Regions from separate parts of the Homo sapiens genome. Here all the other regions are linked to region 2. Evidence: promoter capture Hi-C in human tissues and cell types (Jung and others, 2019). All regions are on one chromosome and are shown on one strand. The core of a region is centred on a gene start or on the middle of the fragment in contact, and the rest is flanking DNA. Distances in the headings are between cores, read along the strand shown. Region 1 holds the start of FUT6 (fucosyltransferase 6). Region 2 holds the start of DENND1C (DENN domain containing 1C). Region 3 overlaps LOC124904625 (a long non-coding RNA gene).

The links. The method cuts DNA at HindIII sites, captures the fragments that hold promoters and counts their contacts. A contact is called where the count stands out against the background at its distance.
Region 1: a contact is called between the fragment with the promoter of FUT6 here and the fragment with the promoter of DENND1C in region 2, in 1 of the 25 tissues and cell types used here (aorta).
Region 3: a contact is called between a fragment that was not itself captured here and the fragment with the promoter of DENND1C in region 2, in 1 of the 25 tissues and cell types used here (dorsolateral prefrontal cortex).

The regions. Positions count from the first base shown.
Region 1 is chr19:5,838,028-5,840,984 of GRCh38, reverse strand. It overlaps FUT6 (fucosyltransferase 6), which reads left to right and starts at 1,283. Exons shown (of 3, transcript NM_000150.4): 1 at 1,283-2,308. The HindIII fragment of the contact is 16,612 bases long and covers 1-2,957 here.
Region 2 is chr19:6,480,531-6,483,843 of GRCh38, reverse strand. It overlaps DENND1C (DENN domain containing 1C), which reads left to right and starts at 2,057. Exons shown (of 23, transcript NM_024898.4): 1 at 2,057-2,165. The coding sequence starts at 2,149. RefSeq lists an enhancer at 1,572-1,866. The HindIII fragment of the contact is 27,793 bases long and covers 1-3,313 here.
Region 3 is chr19:7,094,009-7,096,970 of GRCh38, reverse strand. The region is part of intron 1 of LOC124904625 (a long non-coding RNA gene); the gene reads left to right. Among named protein-coding and RNA genes, the nearest start is that of ZNF557, 26 kb to the right of the region's middle. The HindIII fragment of the contact is 4,002 bases long and covers 1-2,962 here.

The DNA of each region.
Region 1 (2,957 bases), core at 34-2,533, 640 kb after region 2:
TCCTGGCTAACATGTCTCTACTAAAAATACAAAAAAAAAAAAAAAAATTAGCTGGGCGTGATGGCGGACGCCTGTAGTCCCAGCTACTTGGGGCAGGAGAATGGCGTGAACCCAGGAGGCAGAGCTTGCCATGAGCCGAGATCGTGCCACTGCACTCCAGCCTGGGCCACAGAGCGAGACTCTGTCTCAAAAAAAAAAAAGAAAAAAAACCCAGCTGGGCGGAGTGGCTCATGCCTGGCCTCTAATCCCAGTACTTTAGGAGGCTGAGGCAGACAGATCACCTGAAGTCAGGAGGTCAAGATCAGCCTGGCTAACATGGCGAAAACCAGCTCTATTAAAAAAATACGAAAGTTACCCAGTGCCGTGTCACGCGCCTGTAGTCCCAGCTACTCGGGAGGCTGGGGCATGAGAATCGCTTGAGCCCGGGAGGCATAGGTTACAGTAAACTGAGACTGTGCCACTGCACTCCAGCCCGAGTGACAGAGCAAGATTCCATCTCAAAAAAAAGAGAGAGATAGGGGTATCTCTGTTTTCCCTAGGCTGGTCTCAGACTCCTGGGCTCAAGCGATCTTCCTGCCTCTCCTTCCCAAACTGTTGGGATTACAGGTGTGAGTCACTGTGCATGGCCTCAGAAGTCTTTTTTTTTTTTTTTTTTTTTTTTGAGACAGAGTCTTGCACTGTCGCCCAGGCTGGAGTGCAGTGGCTCAATCTAGGCTCACTGCAAGCTCCGCCTCCCGGGTTCACACCATTCTCCTGCCTCAGCCTCCCAAGTAGCTGGGACTACAGGCACCCACTACCACGCCTGGCTAATTTTTTTGTATTTTTAGTAGAGACAGGGTTTCACCATGTTAGTCAGGATGGATGGTCTTGATCTTCTGATCTCGTGATCTGCCCACCTCGGCCTCCCAAAGTGTTGGGATTACAGGCGTGAGCCACCACGCCCGGCCCCCAGAAGTCATTTTTTTAATAAGTTACAGTCAACCTCACCAGTCAAGGAATGAGACATGAGTGGAATTAGGTTGCCACTTCTGGAGCTCTGGGAGACCCCAACCCCCTGGCCCATCCCTACCTCCCAGAACCTCACTGGTCTGGGCGTGGCTGGGCACTGAGATAGTAGAACTCAGGCAGCATGATGCAGCCTCCCAGAAATGATTTCTAGAACAGGGCAGTCGTGATACTTGGAGGCTGGGCTTTGAGCTCGGTCACCTTTGCACCCAGCTTGGGAGTGAGAGAGTTTAAGGTCATCCTCCCTCAAAACCAGTATTCCAGATCATTTCTCTCCATTCCAGGAAGTTTGCATAGCTCCCTGGACTTCTGCTTTGCACTGCCCTGCAGGAGTGGGTGGGGAAAGGAAGTGGCTTTGAGGCACACAGAGGGGCTTGTTGAGGCCACCGGAGGAAGCTTCTGCCACCAATATGGGACCTGTGCCCAGCCTACCAGAAGAGAGCATCTGAAAACATGTATCGACATGGTAACCCCTCTGCTTGAAGCCTCACATGGCTCCCTATTGCCTTGGTGCTGAACACCCTATGGCTGACCGTGGCCCAGCCTCTGCAACAGCTCTGCCTCCTCTCCAGTGGTGAAGACCCAGCCTGCTGAGACTCCTCCTGCAGTTCCTCAACATGCCTGCATTTCTGCTGCCTCAGGGCCTTTGCGAAGGTTGTTCCTTGTAACTGGAATGCCCTTCCATCCCTTTTTTATTCAAAAGGCTGCAATTTTAATTGAAGAAAGTTCCCTTCCAAGGTTCATGAGTTGCCTGACTTGCCCACCGGTTTCCTGCAAGATCCCTTGGCCTGGCACTTAGTGCTCAGGAAATATTTGGTGATGGGCCAACTGAGTGAGAAGGTGGGATCTGGTGGGAAGGAAAGCGGAAAGGTAGAAATTCTGCTCACTTCCTCATTCCCACCTCCCAAGGAACCCCTGGTGTCCCTGTGGAACCCGCTTTGGGAACCGGTGGTTCAGGTCAGCCTTTTCACTTTGTACTCAAAGCCACATCGCATTGAAGCCACAGGTGGGGCAAGGTCATGCATGACCTGAGTCTCCAAATCCCTTCACCCTGTTTGGTTCTGCAACGGGGATTAGGGGAGCCCCACGATTTGTTTTCAAAGGATGTCCGGGCTCCAGGACAGGATGCCCTGGGTCACCTGATGACAGGTGTGGTGGTTGGAAAGGGCCTGGTTTCAGCTCCGGGTACACTTCCTCCTTCCTTCTGCTGCGTGGTGTGGCCTCTTCCACGTCCTCAGAATCCAGCTGTTACTCCGTCCGCGGCCTCTCAGCTCTAGGGCCCTCTGCACACTGGCCCCCCCAGGTAAGGCCTCTTGTCCCACTTTCACCCCCAACCCGGATCGCATGGGTCCAGGGAAAGGCCTCCTGGCTCCGAGCCTCCTCCCCTCAGCCTCAGTCCTGTCTGCTGTAATTCAGAGTGCGGGTGGGCTGGCACAAGATCCCTGGGGGAGGGTCTGCAGGCTGTGCAGTGGCCTGGCATTTGGCCAGCAGCCCCTAGTCGCAGGCAGGGGTCTTTCTGGATGCACCGAGGTGGGCTGAGGATATGGGAGGTCTGGCTGATTTGCCAAACCAGGAGGAAGTGGGTGTCTGTCTGTCTCTCTTGCAGAGCTCTGCGGTAGAATCCCGTGCCCCCCGACCCCATCAGCAGCCTACACCCCTTCATCCTTCCTGGCCCCGGATTTTCTCTGCCTCTGCCACTCCCGGTGGTAAAAGAGGGCTTAGAATGCGGTTTGCTTTCTGGCTTTGTTTTTTTGCATCCTGATCTTTGTGGCGTGGATCGATCATTTTCCAGGGAAAGTACCTTGGGTGAGATCTCTCTCCTGGACTCCCGTTCCCCGTTTCCCCCAATCTCCCCTCCTGAAGGTCACCGGCAAAGACTTCACTGTCTCCTAGGAAGAGGTCGCCATAAACCCAGGGGCCACATGATAATATATTAATATTAAATGTATCTC
Region 2 (3,313 bases), core at 808-3,307:
TGCAGATATGTTCACATATCCTGTCTCAACATGACTACGTCTGTCCACCTGTGTGCCTGTGTCTTTTTTGTTGTTTTTGTTTGTTCCTGTGTTTGTTTGGAGATAGGGTCTTACACCGTTGCCCAGGCTGGAGTGCAATGGCACGATCACAGCTCACTACAACCCCCACCACCTGGGCTCAAGGGATCCTCCCGCCTCAGCCTACAGAATAGCTGGGACTACTGCACCTGGCTAAAGTTTTAATTTTTGTAAAGATGGGGTCTTGTTATATTGCTCAGGCTGATCTTTAACTCCTGGCCTCAAACAATCCTACCTCAGCCTCCCAAGGTGCTGGGATTACTGAGCCACTGCCTCCAGCCCCTGTGTCTTTCATAGTCTGCAGCACGGCTTGAGTGTGTCGGGCTGTCATGAGTATCTGGCTGTCATGTGAGTCCAGCTGTGTCTCTCTCTGCATGTGGCCGGGTCTTGGCTATAACTATATCTGGTTATTACTTGAGCTATGTCTGTGCTGTGTTTCCATCTATCTGGGTCTATTTCTCTGTTATTCTGTTTGTATCAATGGCTGTGGTCTCTGTGTAACTGTTTATTGTGTCTCTGTCTGTCTCTGCATTTGTTTGTTTGTTTGTTTGCTTTGTTTTTGTTTTTGTTTTTGAGATGGAGTCTCACTCTTTCACCCAGGCTGGAGTGCAGTGGCACGATCTCGGCTCACTGCAACCTCTGCCTCCCGGATTCAAGTGATTCTCCTGCTTCAGCCTCCCAAGCAGCTGGGATTACAGGCACATGCCACCATGCCCAGCTAATTTTTTGTTTGTTTGTTTGTTTTTGATTTTTTGAGACAGAGTCCTGCTCTGTCGCCCAGGCTAGAGTACAGCGGCGCGATATCGGCTCACTGCAAACTCCGCCTCCCAGGTTCAAATAATTCTGCCTCAGCCTCCTGAGTAACTGGGATTACAGATGCCCACCACCGTGCCTGGCTAATCTTTGTATTTTTAGTAGAGACTGGGTTTCACCATCTTGGCCAGGCTGGTCTCGAACTCCTGACCTCGTGATCCACCTGCCTCAGCCTCCCAAAGTGCTGGGATTACAGATGTGAGCCACCGCACCTGGCCTGTATTTTTTTTTAATTAGAGACAGGGTTTCACCATGTTGGCCAGGCTGGTTGCAAACTCCTGACCTCAAGTGATCCGCTTACCTTGTCTTTCTGCGCACAATGGGTGTGTAACTGTGACTAAGTTGTTTTTTTTTTTTTTTGAGACAGGATCTCACTTTGTTGCTCAGGCTGGAGTACAGTAGTGCAATCTTGGTTCACTATGGCCTCAAACTCCCCAGGCTCAGGCGATCCTCCTGACTCAGCCTCCTGGGTAAGCTGGGACTATAGGTGCGTGCCACCACCGCCAGCTATAATTTTTGTAGCTTTTATAGACACAGGGTTTCGCCATGTTTCCCAGGCTGGTCTCGAACTCCTGGGCTCAAGCGGTCCTCCCACCTTGGCCTCTCAAAGTGCTGGGATTATAGGCGTGAGCCACTGTGCCCGGCCTGGGACTATGATCCAGCTGTAGGACTCCCTATCTCTCCATGTCTGTCGTCTCTGGCTCTTCTGCACTCGGTTTGTCTGTGCTGATGACTTCCTGAGCGTGTAACTGTCTGTGTCTGTGTCTGTCTGTCCGTCCCTGTGCCTGTACTTCGTGCTCTTTGTCCCCATCCCTGGCCCCCCCACCGTCCACTTTACAGGTGGCTCCCTCTGGTGGTCCACCAGTGACCGTCCAGGCCAAATGGACCAAGGGAAAGAGACGGGGAGGCATTTCATTAATAGACAGACTGTGAATCTTGGCTGCTGCGGAGCGGGGAAGGAGAGATGAGGGCCCAGGCACGATGGGGGGAACCAGACACAGTCCAGCCTGGCGGGGACGGAGCTGGGGGTCTGCCTTCCCAGGCTGACCACTTATTGCCCACCCATCCCCAACATAATTAGCAGGCAGGATGCCTGGGTTTCTCACGGGGGTGGGGGCAGGGCCTCTGTCCGGGGACGTCACCCGTTAAACTTCCTCTCTCAGCCACACAGGAAGCTGAGCCGGCTTGGGGCCCAGCATACACAGGCCCCCAGGACCCCTGGGGAGAGGGCCCCGCTGGGCTGGCCCTGCAGGGACCATGGAATCCAGAGCTGAGTAAGAGCCACCCCATCCCTCATTCTCTGGTACAAGATTCCCGGGCCAGGCCTGAGCCGGGGCAGAGGGGAGCTGGGGCTGGAGCAGGCCCGGGAGGTGCAGTGACCTGCCAGGGCAGGTGGCTGGAATCAGATACTCCATGGGCCTCCGCTATGACCTTCACTCTGGGACAGGCCACTCTCGGTCCCCTCCTCTCTCTCTCTCTCTCTCTCTCTATCCAGCTCCTGTGATTATGTCTATAGCTCTGTGAATGCATGTACCCCTCTGAGCTTTGTCCTTGGTATGTCTGAGTGATGGCTTCAGGGGGTCCACAGGGCGGATGATCAGGGCAGAGGGGAGGCTGGGTGTTGGTATGAGTGGGTGATCGTGTGTGACTTGTGTCGGCGTGAGGGTGAAGTGCTGGGGTACCCATGGTGGGGACTGTGTGTGCAACTGGGCGGGACAGTGTGTGTGCAGCTGATCTCCCTCTAGATCTCCCTGTCTCTCTCCTTGAGCCCAAGGCTGCCTCTTCTGCTTGATATGGGGGCAGAGGAGGAAAGCAGAGATTGCAGGGCTTACAGTAAGTACCTAGGTATCCTGCCCTCCTTTCTCTGATGAGACATGTGGGACCAGCCACGAGGGTTCTATGGGGTCTCACACACAGAGACACACAGCCAGCCCACAAGGATCCCACGCGGTTACCCAGTGACACTCACAGCTGTACAGGAAAATATAGATGTCATTCACTTGCTCGGGCACACACACTCACATCTATACAAGAAAATATAGATGGCATGGCTAGATGCAGTGACTCAAGCCTGTAATCCCAGCAATTTGGGAGGCTGAGGCGGGCAGATCACCTGAGGTCAGGAGTTTGAGAACAGCCTGGCCAGTATGTGAAACCCTGTCTCTACTAAAAATATGAAAATTAGCTGGGCGTGGTGGCGGGCACCTGTAATCCCAGCTACAGGGAGGCTGAGGCAGGAGAATCGCTTGAACCTGTGGGGTGGAGGTTGCAGTGAGCCAAGATCGTGCCACTGTACTCCAGCCTGGGTGACAAAGCAAAACTCCATCTCAAAAAAATAGATAGATAGATAGATAGATAGATAGATAGATAGATAGATAGATAGATAGATAGGTGGGTGGGTGGATGGATAGGTGGGTGGGTG
Region 3 (2,962 bases), core at 213-2,712, 610 kb before region 2:
CTGATCTCGTGATCCACCCGCCTTGGCCTCCCAAAGTGCTGGGATTACAGGCGTGAGCCACCATACCCAGCCTGGAGTTCCTTTCTTGAGTGTGTAGAGGATTGAGGGTTGATTGGTTTTTGGAGTTTCCATCATTAATGTAGGAGCGATACGGGGAATCACTTGGCGAAGCTTTCATTGTCTCTGATGTTGGAGGTAACTGGAGGGCCAGTGCCTGGGGCTTCCATTTTTTTCTAGTGTTGAAGGGTCAAGAGCATTTATCAGATAGAGGCCTTACTGTGTATTGTTTGGGGAGAGGATGGAGGGATTATTGGATGGGGTTCCACTTATCTCTAGTTGGGGAGGGTCATATTCTGGGTCTCCGCTTGCCTGTACTGTTGGTATAGACTGGGTAGGCCATTGGGCTTGGAGTCCCCATTCTTTAGTGTTGAGGGGCATCTGAAGGGGTCATTTCAGGGACTTCTGTTATAGTTTTGGACGTGACTGAGGGGTGCTTGCTGGAGTAGTTTCGCGATGACGGAGGTCTTCATGTTTGGACTCCATCTTTTGTGTTTGTAAGTGATTGAGGGGTGGAGATCTGGCATCCTGTTGCCTCTTGTTTTGAGGGTGACTGGTGGTTACCTGCTAGGGCTTCTGTCAGCTCTACTGCTGTATGCAGATTGTGAGAATCACTTGCTGGGGCTTCCATAATCTCTAGTCTTAGGGGGACTGGGAAATGGCTTGCCATGCTTTCTATTATCTCTAGTTTTAAGGGACCAGTTCAATGTGATTTAAAACTCTTTTTATTTGAAAAAAAAAAAAAATTAGGGCTGGGCACGTTGGCTCACGCCTATAATCCTAACACTTTTGGGAGGCCAAGGCAGATGGATCACTTGAGGTCAGGAGTTTGAGACCAGCCTGGTCACCATGGCGAAACCCCATCTCTACTAAAAATACAAAAATTAGCTGGGCGTGGTGGTGCACACCTGTAGTTGCAGCTACTTGGAGGCTGAGGCAAGAGAATTGCTTGAACCCAGGAGGCGGAAGTTGCAGTGAGGTGAGTGTGGGCAACAGAGTGAGACTCCGTCTGAAAAAAAAAAAAAGATTTAGACGTATAAAAGTGTTAAAACTATACAGGCTTGATTTATACAGTCAATATTTATTTGTATTTGCTCACATTTTATCTTTCCTGATTATCCTTATATATTTCTGGAATTGCTTCCACATGGAATAATTTTCCTCCAGCCCCAAAACTTTCCTTCTTTCTTTCCTTCTCCTTCCTTCCTTCCTTCCTTCCCTCCCTCCCTCCTTCCTTCTTTTTTTTTTTTGAGACAGAGTCTCGCTCCATCGCCCAGGCTGGAAAGCAACGGTGCGATCTCAGCTCACTGCAACCTCCACCTCCTGGGTTCAAGCAATTCTCCTGCCTCAGCCTCCCAAGTAGCTGGGATTATAGGCGACCGCCACTACGCCCAGCTAATTTTTTTTTTTTTTTGTAGTTTTAGCAGAGATGGGGTTTTGCCATGTTGGCCAGCCTTGTCTCGAACTCCTGACCTCAGGTGATCCACCTGCCTCAGCCTCCCAAAATGCTGGGATTACAGGTGTGAGCCACCGTGTCTGGCCCAAAACTTTCTTTAGTGTTTCTTGAAGTGCAGTTCTGCTGGTGATGAACTATGTTGTTGCTGAAACACCAGGGGTTCAATCTAGGTCCTGCTGCTCACCACTGCACAGAAAGCCTATCGCTGAGACAATGAGTATTGCCAAGGAAGAAGGCTTTAATCAGCTGCTGCAGCTGAGGAGGTGGGAGAACAATCTCAAATCCATCTCCCTGACCAACTAAAATTTGAGGTTTATATAGCAGGGAAGAAATGTTACCATGTGTGGGAATACAGGAATTAGGGAAGGGTAAGGAAGAGGAGTTGGTCAACAGGAAGCAGGTGGTCAGTTAGGCAATCATGATGGGTGATGGGTCTGATGTCTCACTGTACAAATGCAGTATTCTGGTGCGTTTCAGCTCCTAGATACTATCTGGGAGGCCTGATGGTTGGTTTCCTGAGAAAGGAACTCAGATAAGATAAATGTAACTTTCTTAAGTTTTAAGATTGGGAAGATCAATTTGTTTGTTTATTCAAGGAAACCATAAACATCAGCAATATGGGAAAATTGGGCCAGTTTCACTTTCAGGTATTTAAAAGAAAAATCTATTGGATTTTGGATATCAATTCTTGTCCTTCACTTGGCGCTAAGTTCATGTCCCTACATAAGATACAAAGGGGGCCGGGCGCGGTGGCTCCCGCCTGTAATCCTAGCACTTTGGGAGGCCGAGGTGGGCGGATCACAAGGTCAAGAATTCAAGACCAGCCTGGCCAACATAGTGAAACCCCATCTCTACTAAAAATACAAAAATTAGCCGGGTGTGCTGGCGTGTGCCTGTAGTCCCAGCTACTCGGGAGGCTGAAGCAGGAGAGTCGCTTGAATCCAGGAGGCGGAGGTTGTAGTGAGCAGAGATGGCACCATTGCACTCCAGCCTGTGTGACAGAGTGAGACTCCATCTCAAAAAAAAAAAAAAAAAAAAAGAGATACAAAGGAAGCTACTGTTGGGATAATGTCATTTGGTCGTATTCCCATCAGAAACCTTAAGCTTTGGCCACAACCAGGACTCTTCATATAAAATGGTGATGGTGGTGGTGGGGAACCAGGGAAAAAGCGGAAAAAATTAAAGATTTTTTAAAAAACCCAAACCCAAAGCATAGCTGTCTTCTATTCCTGCTTTGGGACCTGGTCTTCAGGACTGAATTTAATTCTTCCACATCCATTCCACATTCTGCTTTCTCTCTGCCAGTCCCTTATCTGAATGGATTTTTATTTTTATTTTTTTTTGGGATGGAGTCTCACTCTGTCGCCCAGGCTGGAGTGCAGCGGCGCGATCTCGGCTCACTGAAAGCTCTGCCTCCCGGGTTCACGCCATTCTCCTGCCTCAGCCTCC